Linked DNA regions of Homo sapiens: region 1 is linked to region 2. The links are contacts of gene promoters, found by promoter capture Hi-C in human tissues and cell types (Jung and others, 2019). All regions are on one chromosome and are shown on one strand. Each heading gives the region's core, a stretch centred on a gene start or on the middle of the fragment in contact. The rest is flanking DNA. Distances are from core to core; before and after follow the strand shown.

Evidence for each region. Contacts are between HindIII fragments. The study calls those that stand out against the background at their distance.
Region 1: a contact is called between a fragment that was not itself captured here and the fragment with the promoter of CIDEA in region 2, in 3 of the 25 tissues and cell types used here (H1 embryonic stem cells, lymphoblastoid cells and spleen).

Annotation. Positions count from the first base shown.
Region 1 is chr18:11,660,239-11,664,255 of GRCh38, reverse strand. No RefSeq gene overlaps it. Among named protein-coding and RNA genes, the nearest start is that of MIR7153, 7.3 kb to the right of the region's middle. The HindIII fragment of the contact is 6,531 bases long and covers 1-4,017 here.
Region 2 is chr18:12,252,522-12,256,370 of GRCh38, reverse strand. It overlaps CIDEA (cell death inducing DFFA like effector a), which reads right to left and starts at 2,010. Exons shown (of 5, transcript NM_001279.4): 1 at 1,950-2,010. The coding sequence starts at 1,987. LOC105371996 (a long non-coding RNA gene) reads right to left here and starts at 1,358. Exons shown (of 2, transcript XR_935158.3): 1 at 940-1,358; 2 at 1-792. RefSeq lists an enhancer at 2,268-2,874. The HindIII fragment of the contact is 10,266 bases long and covers 654-3,849 here.

The DNA of each region.
Region 1 (4,017 bases), core at 1,466-3,965, 590 kb after region 2:
GGACTGCTGTGAGCCTCAAATAAAGACAATAGGTGGAAAGTGTCTAGCATCTGGTTATGTTGGAAGTGCTCCGTGTTACGTGTTAAATCATCATCCACAAAGTAAGGCCCTGAGCATCTGGCTATTTTACTTTTAACAGTTTCTTATCTGGCCCACGTGAAGAGAGCAGTGTGACATTCTGGATGCCACTCTGAGGTTTGGTGAATGACCTCTCGTCCATCCTAGCTGGGGGCTCCTTGATTCTCACCTGAATCACTGTTCCATCCCCCAGACAGCCTCACCCATTCCATTCTGTCTCATATTCAGCCTCGTCCCCATACCACAGCCTGAATGACACTTAACAGGCACACCCGGTCCCTCACTCTTAGGCATTGATTTCTGTGGAAACCCACTATACTCTCAGGATAAAGCGGCACCCTGAGCTGGACTGCTGAGGGCCAGGAGTCCACCCCTGGTGGCCTCCCCAGCCACCCACTCTGCTCTGTGCCTGGTGGGAAACTTCAGGTCATGCATTTTGCCTCTTGGGGTTCATCCCCCCAGCTTTGCATGAAGCCTCTTGTCCAGGTGTCTCTGCATGCTTTTCCTACTTCTTGGAAAGGTTTTCCTCCTTCTTGGAAAGCTTTTCCTCTTCTTCCCAAATTAGTAACATCTTCCATATGCTCCCACAACCAACAGGAATGTTAAGGAAATTATTCGGCCTGTATATTTCAGCACTGGAGAGGGAAACACAGAGGTAACTGGGATCACAAAAAAGCTGCCATTCCCTCCAAGACCGGAAATAAGCAAATGTGTGCTCAGACACCGAAACAGCCAAACAGATGCCTTCCTTGTGATGCTTCTGTGGTGACCTTGTCCCCCTTCTCATGTCTGCCACCCTCAGCCAGCCTCCCAGCTACCTCTCAGCTGTCCCTCTGTGGTGGCAGCACACTCATTTGTCACAGTCTACATGTGGACTTCTGTTTTAGCTTTGGGATGATGGTCAGATGATGTCTGTCCTGTGCATAAAGCCCTCTGGCCCCTTAGAAAAAAATCCAAACTCCTCACCTGGGCTAAATGAACCCTGCCTGTCCTGGTTTTGTGCCTGACTCTCTGAGGGTCAACTCGCACCCTCCTCCTCCTTGGTTACCTGCTCCTCTGGCCTGTGCCTCCTTGTCCCTTGTCCCAGGAAATCTCTTCTCCCAGGTTTTTGCAGACTGTCTATTTCTTCTCCAAGCATACCGGCTCAAATATCACACCTCTGAGAAGAGCTGGCCTCCAGCCTCCCCATCTTTGTAAGTGGTCAGACATTCTCCCTCACACTGCCCCTGATGGGCTCCATCTGAACTCTTCTTGTCTGTTTATTTGCCTCGCTTTCACGTTGTCCGTGTCCCGCACCAAGTCTGCTTAGCTCATGCCTTGTCAGTATCTCCAGCAGTGCCTGGCGTGTGGTCACTTGCCAGAACTATTGGATGAATGTCTCACTTCTCCAACTAGATCATGAGCTCTTGAGCCATGGAATGGAATGGCTTCATCTTACTCTCCTGTTTTCCCCAAAGTAGGGACTTTGGGGAAAAGTGCATAGAAAGTGCTGGGTGAACATTGATTTTTACATTGTCAAATGTGATTGGCTGTCATTTGGTGGACATGAGCTGGAGAGGAAGATATCTGGAGTAACCAGTTTCCAAGTGGTGCCATGAGTTTTCCCTTATCTGTTCTGTAAAAATTGGGAGTATGTGAGATGGGGAAAACTTTCATTTGGATTCTAGTTCCATTGCTGCCACTAGCTGGCAGCTAGCTGTGGGTCCTTGGGCAAATCCAAAGGAGCAAGTCACTTAGTCCCTTTAATTCTTAATCCTCACATTTATGAATACAGGAATTAAACTAAGGACTTTCAGGGCTCTCTTCCACTTATAAATTCTAGACCTAGATCATTTTAGGCCAGACCATCACCGTTATCAGGCTGCTTCCATCTGGTTTTTTGAATAGATGTACGTGGATACTGGTAGCGTAATCCCAGTATGATGCTATAAGAAGCATCATTGTTTCCACGAGGGAGGAAAGGTATAAAGGTGAGGGAAGTAGTGCCTTCAGTGAGAACTTAAGAGATGGATGTAGGAGAGACCCGAGGGCTCTGGAGCTGGAGAACCGATGTTCACAGAATTCTCGTTCACTGCTTGTTCTCACATGAATGCTCAAAATGCGGCACATTACTCATTTTGGAGAACTGGGCTGAAAATGAAACCTGGTTGATCGAAGAGAAGAGGGCAATGAGGAGGACAACTGTTGAATTCTGCAGTGACTCTGGTCCCTGTTACAAGCTCAACCTGAAGGAAAAGTAGTTCCATGAAATGGTTCCAATGAGAGTGTTACAGGACCAACAGGTTCACATGCTTGCTGTGCAGTCACAGATCAATGACATGGAGACAGCAGGGTTTGCAGCAGAGATGGGAGTTTCGTGATCACAGGGTGTTGAGCAAAGAGATGGGAGGAGACCCTCAAATCCATCTCCCAGAGAAGTTCTGGGCTGGGACCCTTAAGGGGATCGTGGAAGATGAGGGACTGGAAAATTAGAGTCATTGATTGGTTGGGGAAAAGGGGAGGAACTCATTAGGATGTGGAAACTGCCATCCTTGGTGAGTCAGCTTCTCCTAGGTTCCTTCAGACCAGCTGAGTCAGCAGTTTCACTGATATGCAGGACCTGAAAGAATATCTCAAAGGGAAATTTGACGTTTTGTAATGTTGAAGTTGTTATCGATAGGGCAGTCAAGGGGAACTATAATCTTGTAACAGGGTCCACGGGATTCTGAGGCAACTGGCACCAAACAGCTATGAGAAAGTGGATCAGAGAGCTGCTGACCTAATGATGAATGCTGAGTGTGCCGCCAGCTGGGTTTATTTTCATTTCTCGCCTTCCTTTATTCCTTGATTAATTTTGTAAAGTTTACAGGGATGCTTTCATGAGCTCCAGCAGATGCCAAAAAGTGCATGCAGTGGGAAAAATGATGCACTTCAGAGAGGCTTGGGAGCCGGGGCTTCTAGGTGGACTTAGGACATAGGCCCTGGGAATGGCAAATGGGCACTCGAATAAAAACAAGGTCCAGGCACATGCCAGTCATGCCTCAAGAAGTGTCAAGGGGTGTCCTGCTTAGCTGCTTCCATTGACATTTCTGTGGGTTCCCGCCTGGGTATTTTTCTTCCCTTCGTTCTTGGGCTAATCTTATCTGGTGAGGTCTGACCTGGTTCTTGTCATCATTCTCCCCGGTGCGCTGGAGTGCCTGTGTGCCCGCTGAAGGCACTGAGGTGTGCATCTGCCTGTGTCTTCTTTTCCTCTGCCAAGTTGTTCCAGTTTGTGTGGGTGGGTCTCTGCCTCAGTTTCCCTGTCTAGCACCCCAGACCCTTGCTGGTGCTGGAACACTGCCCTGAAAACCCAGCTTGTGTGCTGGAGACACTACCCACCTGGTGGACTGCTTTGCCTGCTGGGCAGGAGGAATACACCCCCCTTCCCTCCCTCCTGGTTTCTGGACCCGTGGCGCCGCCACCCACACAGTGTCCTGGAGCTGTGTCCTTGATGCCTTAACCTAATCACCGTACCAAACCGCTTCTAACATTTACAGGCCTGAATTTGCTGGAGTCTTGGGGTTTTTTTAATAGACTTAGATGGAAACATCTTCTCTCCAGTGTCCACAGGGCTGGTTTCCGTAGCCACCGATGTACTCCGAGCCAGTCTTCTTTCCCTCCTGAGAATCAAGTTGTTGCAGTGGCATTATTCGGTTTTGTGGCTGAGCCCACACTGCATTTAACTTCTCCGAGACACTCCCAGGCCAGTTCCTTGAGAAGGAAAGTGACTTCGTATTTGAAAACAATACCAAACTCTATCTTGCCAGTATGGGAGGGTGATGCGAACTTTATCTTTGAACATTCAGACAGACCTTTAAAAAAATTAACTTAAAAATAATATTAACCTATTACTTCAGAAATGATACATTCAAAGGAAAATAAATCATCTGATTCCAGAGAAATGGGTTACTAGTATCAGCC
Region 2 (3,849 bases), core at 761-3,260:
CACATTGATTCGGTTCTTTCCTTGGTAAAATGTAGTTACTAATAAAGACAGAATTATGACATCCTGGACCTGGTTTAAATTAAGGAACCCTGAGAGGAAGCCGAAGTCCAGCAAGAGCACAATTAGCAAATATGTTAGGACCTGGCCTCTGGCTCTTTTGCCCGGACAGGGTTTTAGAGAGGGGCAGGGAAGAAAAGGTGTTTTCCCTTCAACAAGAATTACAGATTGTTTTCTTCCAGTTTAGTTTGGTAACAGGTAGATTTCACAGAATGACAGTAGTCCAGCCTGGGAGCAGGTAGATTTCACAGAATGACAGTAGTTCAGCCTGGGAGCAGGTAGATTTCACAGAATGACAGTAGTTCAGCCTGGAAGCAGGTAGATTTCAAAGAACTGCAGCAACAGCTTGTCCATAACAGGTAGAGTCATTCACTCCTGGGATGAGCCAAGCTGGAAGGAATGTGTCCTAGGAGACTCAAGGTTTCCCAATGTTTCATTTGTCAACAGCTCATAAGCAAGTCACTTCCACTTCACACGACCTCACAGAGACCCCACACAGATGCATTTTGGATTTTGGTGAGCTGTTATAATAGTCAGAGGCAGGGACAGGCTCAGCCTGAATCCTGCTCAGAGGCCAACCAGGATTGGTTAGTGCGAGTCAGCCCACACCTCCTTCCCCCATGCTCCGGAGGAACAGTGGGTGTGTTGTGAATTCACTGGAAAAGTGGTTGGAAGGACGCATTCCAAACTGCTAAGACCTCCCCTCCTGGAAGTGGGACTGTGGTGTGGATGGTTCTGGAAGAACGCAAAAGATACAGGGCCCTGACCTTTAGGCCTAAGCGTGTTAATGACCATACACGAAGCAGGTGTTTCTCAGCGTCCCCCTGCCACCGCCCCGACTTGTACTGTGGGCTTATTTTTAAAGAGAAAGATGCTTCTAACCTGCAGTGTCTACAACAGCTCCCATTTAAGAACCCGGGATTGGAAGCTCATAGATTGCGTTTCGTAGCCGGACCGCTCCCTTTCACACATGTAGTCTCTCTGCCCGCCACACGTAGCACACACAGTGGGACCCGGCGCCGCTGAACGCCTGCACCTTCAAGCCCGCAAATGGTTCTCTATCCTTTTCCAGGTACTTGATCTTCAGAGAAACACGATCTCCCTCTTAGACCTTACTTTACAGTTGCTGCCACGCAATGACTTAGGATTTTACCAAGAATTGGCTTGGGTCTGTTGGGATATGAATATTAACCCAAGCAGGAAAATAGCCAATGCTGCCTGTTCGACCACGAGCGGGTGCGAAGCGCAGGGAAGACTCCTCAGGGTCCACCCGCCCCTTGTCCCCCCTGCTCCCCAGGCAGCGTCTCCGCCCTTGGACCCGGAGGCAAGGAGGAGCGCTTCTCCCAGCACCACCAACCTGGAGGGCTCCGCCGGACGGTTGGGGCCTCCCCTCGGAGACCAGAGCCCGCGCTTCCAGGAGGGGCCAAGCCTGGGCCCCTCCCGCGCCCAGCTCCCGTTGTGATTTCCAGGACCCCCAGAAGCCCGGTCCCCTCGCATCGCGGAAGCTTTGCTCGGGGTTCCTGGGACCGGACCCTCTTCTGCGCCCGCGACTGCAGCAGCGGCCAGAGATGCATGCAGCCACTCGCCAGCTGTCACCTGGTTTGCAGACGCCCGCGCACCTCGCAAGAGCCACACCTGGTACCTGTGCCCAGCTGCAAGAGGGTGAGGAGGCGCGGGACGGGATTGGGCTCTGCCCGCGGGCGCGGCTGGACGGCTTGGGCACCAGTGGGGCGGATGGGTGTGTGCGCGGGGTCGCGGAGCGCAAGAGAATGCGGGGAGCAGGGGGCTGAAGGGAGCGGGGTACGGTACTAGAGGCGCACAGGGGAATATGAGGCCACCGAACGCAAGGCGATTGGAAGCGCACGGCAATCAGGGGGACGCGGGGCACTCGCCTGATGAGGGCTCCTGCATAGTCCCGGGCGGCCTCCATGGCGCGGATCCCCTAGCGGGCCTGGAGGTCTGTCTGCCTGCACAGCCTCTTAAAGTGCGGCGGCCCCGCCCCCGCCCGCCTGCCAGCCCCGCGAAGGCCTGACTGGCGCAGGGGAGGACGTTTTGGCACGAGCTCTCCACCGCCGAGGATCGCGACTTCGCGCTCTGGGAGCCCCCGGTCGTCCTGGCTCCCGCAGCCTGGAGCCGCGCGTCCTTCGCTGCCTTGGGCCGTACCGAGGACCTTGGAAGCCCAGATGCTCCCCGGGTCTCTTTTGGTCACTTGCCAGCCTGTTCGTTTTGCACTTCTGGGGGTCGGGGCAGTTGGGGTCATAACCAATCCTGGCAGCATCACTTTGGCCGCGGAAAGACGGGTATGTGGATTTTAAACCCAGGCCACGGGTGGGGCAGGTGAGGAGACGGATGTGAGCGCCACTTGCCTCCAGCTCTGGAGTCCCCCAGAGCCCAGCCCCAGGCTCAGCGAGCCGCTGGTTCCCTGCAGGGATGCGGAAGCTGCCGCAGACACCGGGACCTGCAGCCCTTCAGGTTCTCCGAGGCGCCTGGGCTTCCTGCCCGCTGCGCTGCTCTCAAGGCCATGTCATGAGCATTTGGGGACAGTGAGAAGGGCATGCAGAACGGGAGGGGAAAGGAGCCTTTGGACTGCATGAATTGCCTTTTAGCTGTAGTAAGGGACCCTCGCAGAGTGAGGAGGCAAAGAGTGAACCCCGCTGGGGCTGGGGGACTTCCGTCCACACCCTGCTCTCATGGTTGTTCCCATCGGAAGACGCAATTAGGGCCTCTGAGACCTCCGAGGAAGGCGGGCAGTTACAAGGGGTTCCCAGAACCCCTCACTACAGGACTGAAGAGGTGGGCTCAGTGTTGAGGGGTGGGACTCGGGCAGTAAGAGGTGTAACTTTCTGGGATGGAGGCTTGCTAGGATATCCTCTCGTGCCCAACTGCTGACTGCCGCCTGGAAACAGCGTTTCGGGAGCTGCAGCGGGACCCTCGCCGGCTCCTCCTGAGCCCACCTGGTTTGAGCAGACTGACCTGATCTCTTAAGACCTGACCCTATGCCCGCCCTCTTCCTCCGCTGGCTCTCAGAAAGGGTCACCGTGGTCAACAAGCCTTGTGACTTGCAGGACTGTTGAAGCCAAAGGCAATTGCCTTCCAGAGTCAAGGACTCCGCCTGCTGGGAACACCCAGCTCCAGGCTCACAGGGGGCAGCTTCCCCCAGAGGCACTGAGCGGACACAGCTTTAGGAGGTCATTCACTGCCCCTCCCACTCACAGCCCCAATGTGATGGATGAGAAAATGGGTCCAATCAATTCAGGTCAACTTACCTCTAACCTTTTTATTGTGAAAAAGTTCAAATATAGAGATACATAGAAAGAACAGGGCTGAGGGTACTGGCTTACATCTGTAATCCCAGTACTTTGGGAGGCCAAAACAGGAGGATGGCTTGAAGCCAGGAATTTGAGACCAGCCTGGGTAACACTGTGAGACTACTATCTCTACACAAAAATAACGATAATTAGCCAAGCATGACGGCGAGCACCTGTAGTGCTAGCTACTCAGGAGGCTGAGGAGGGAGGATCACCTGAGCCCAGGAGTTTGAGGTTGCAGTGAGCTGTGATCATGTCACTGCACTCCAATATGGGCAACAGAGTGAGACTTTCTCTCTAAAGAAAGAAAAAAATCTGTTTGTGTGTATATATCTATCTATCTATATATAAGATAGATAGATAGATAGATAGATAGATAGATAGATAGATAGATAAGAGAGAACAGTACAATGAGCACACTTACACCCAGCCCCTGGATTCAACCACTGTTAACATTTTGACATATTTCTTTGTTCTTTATATT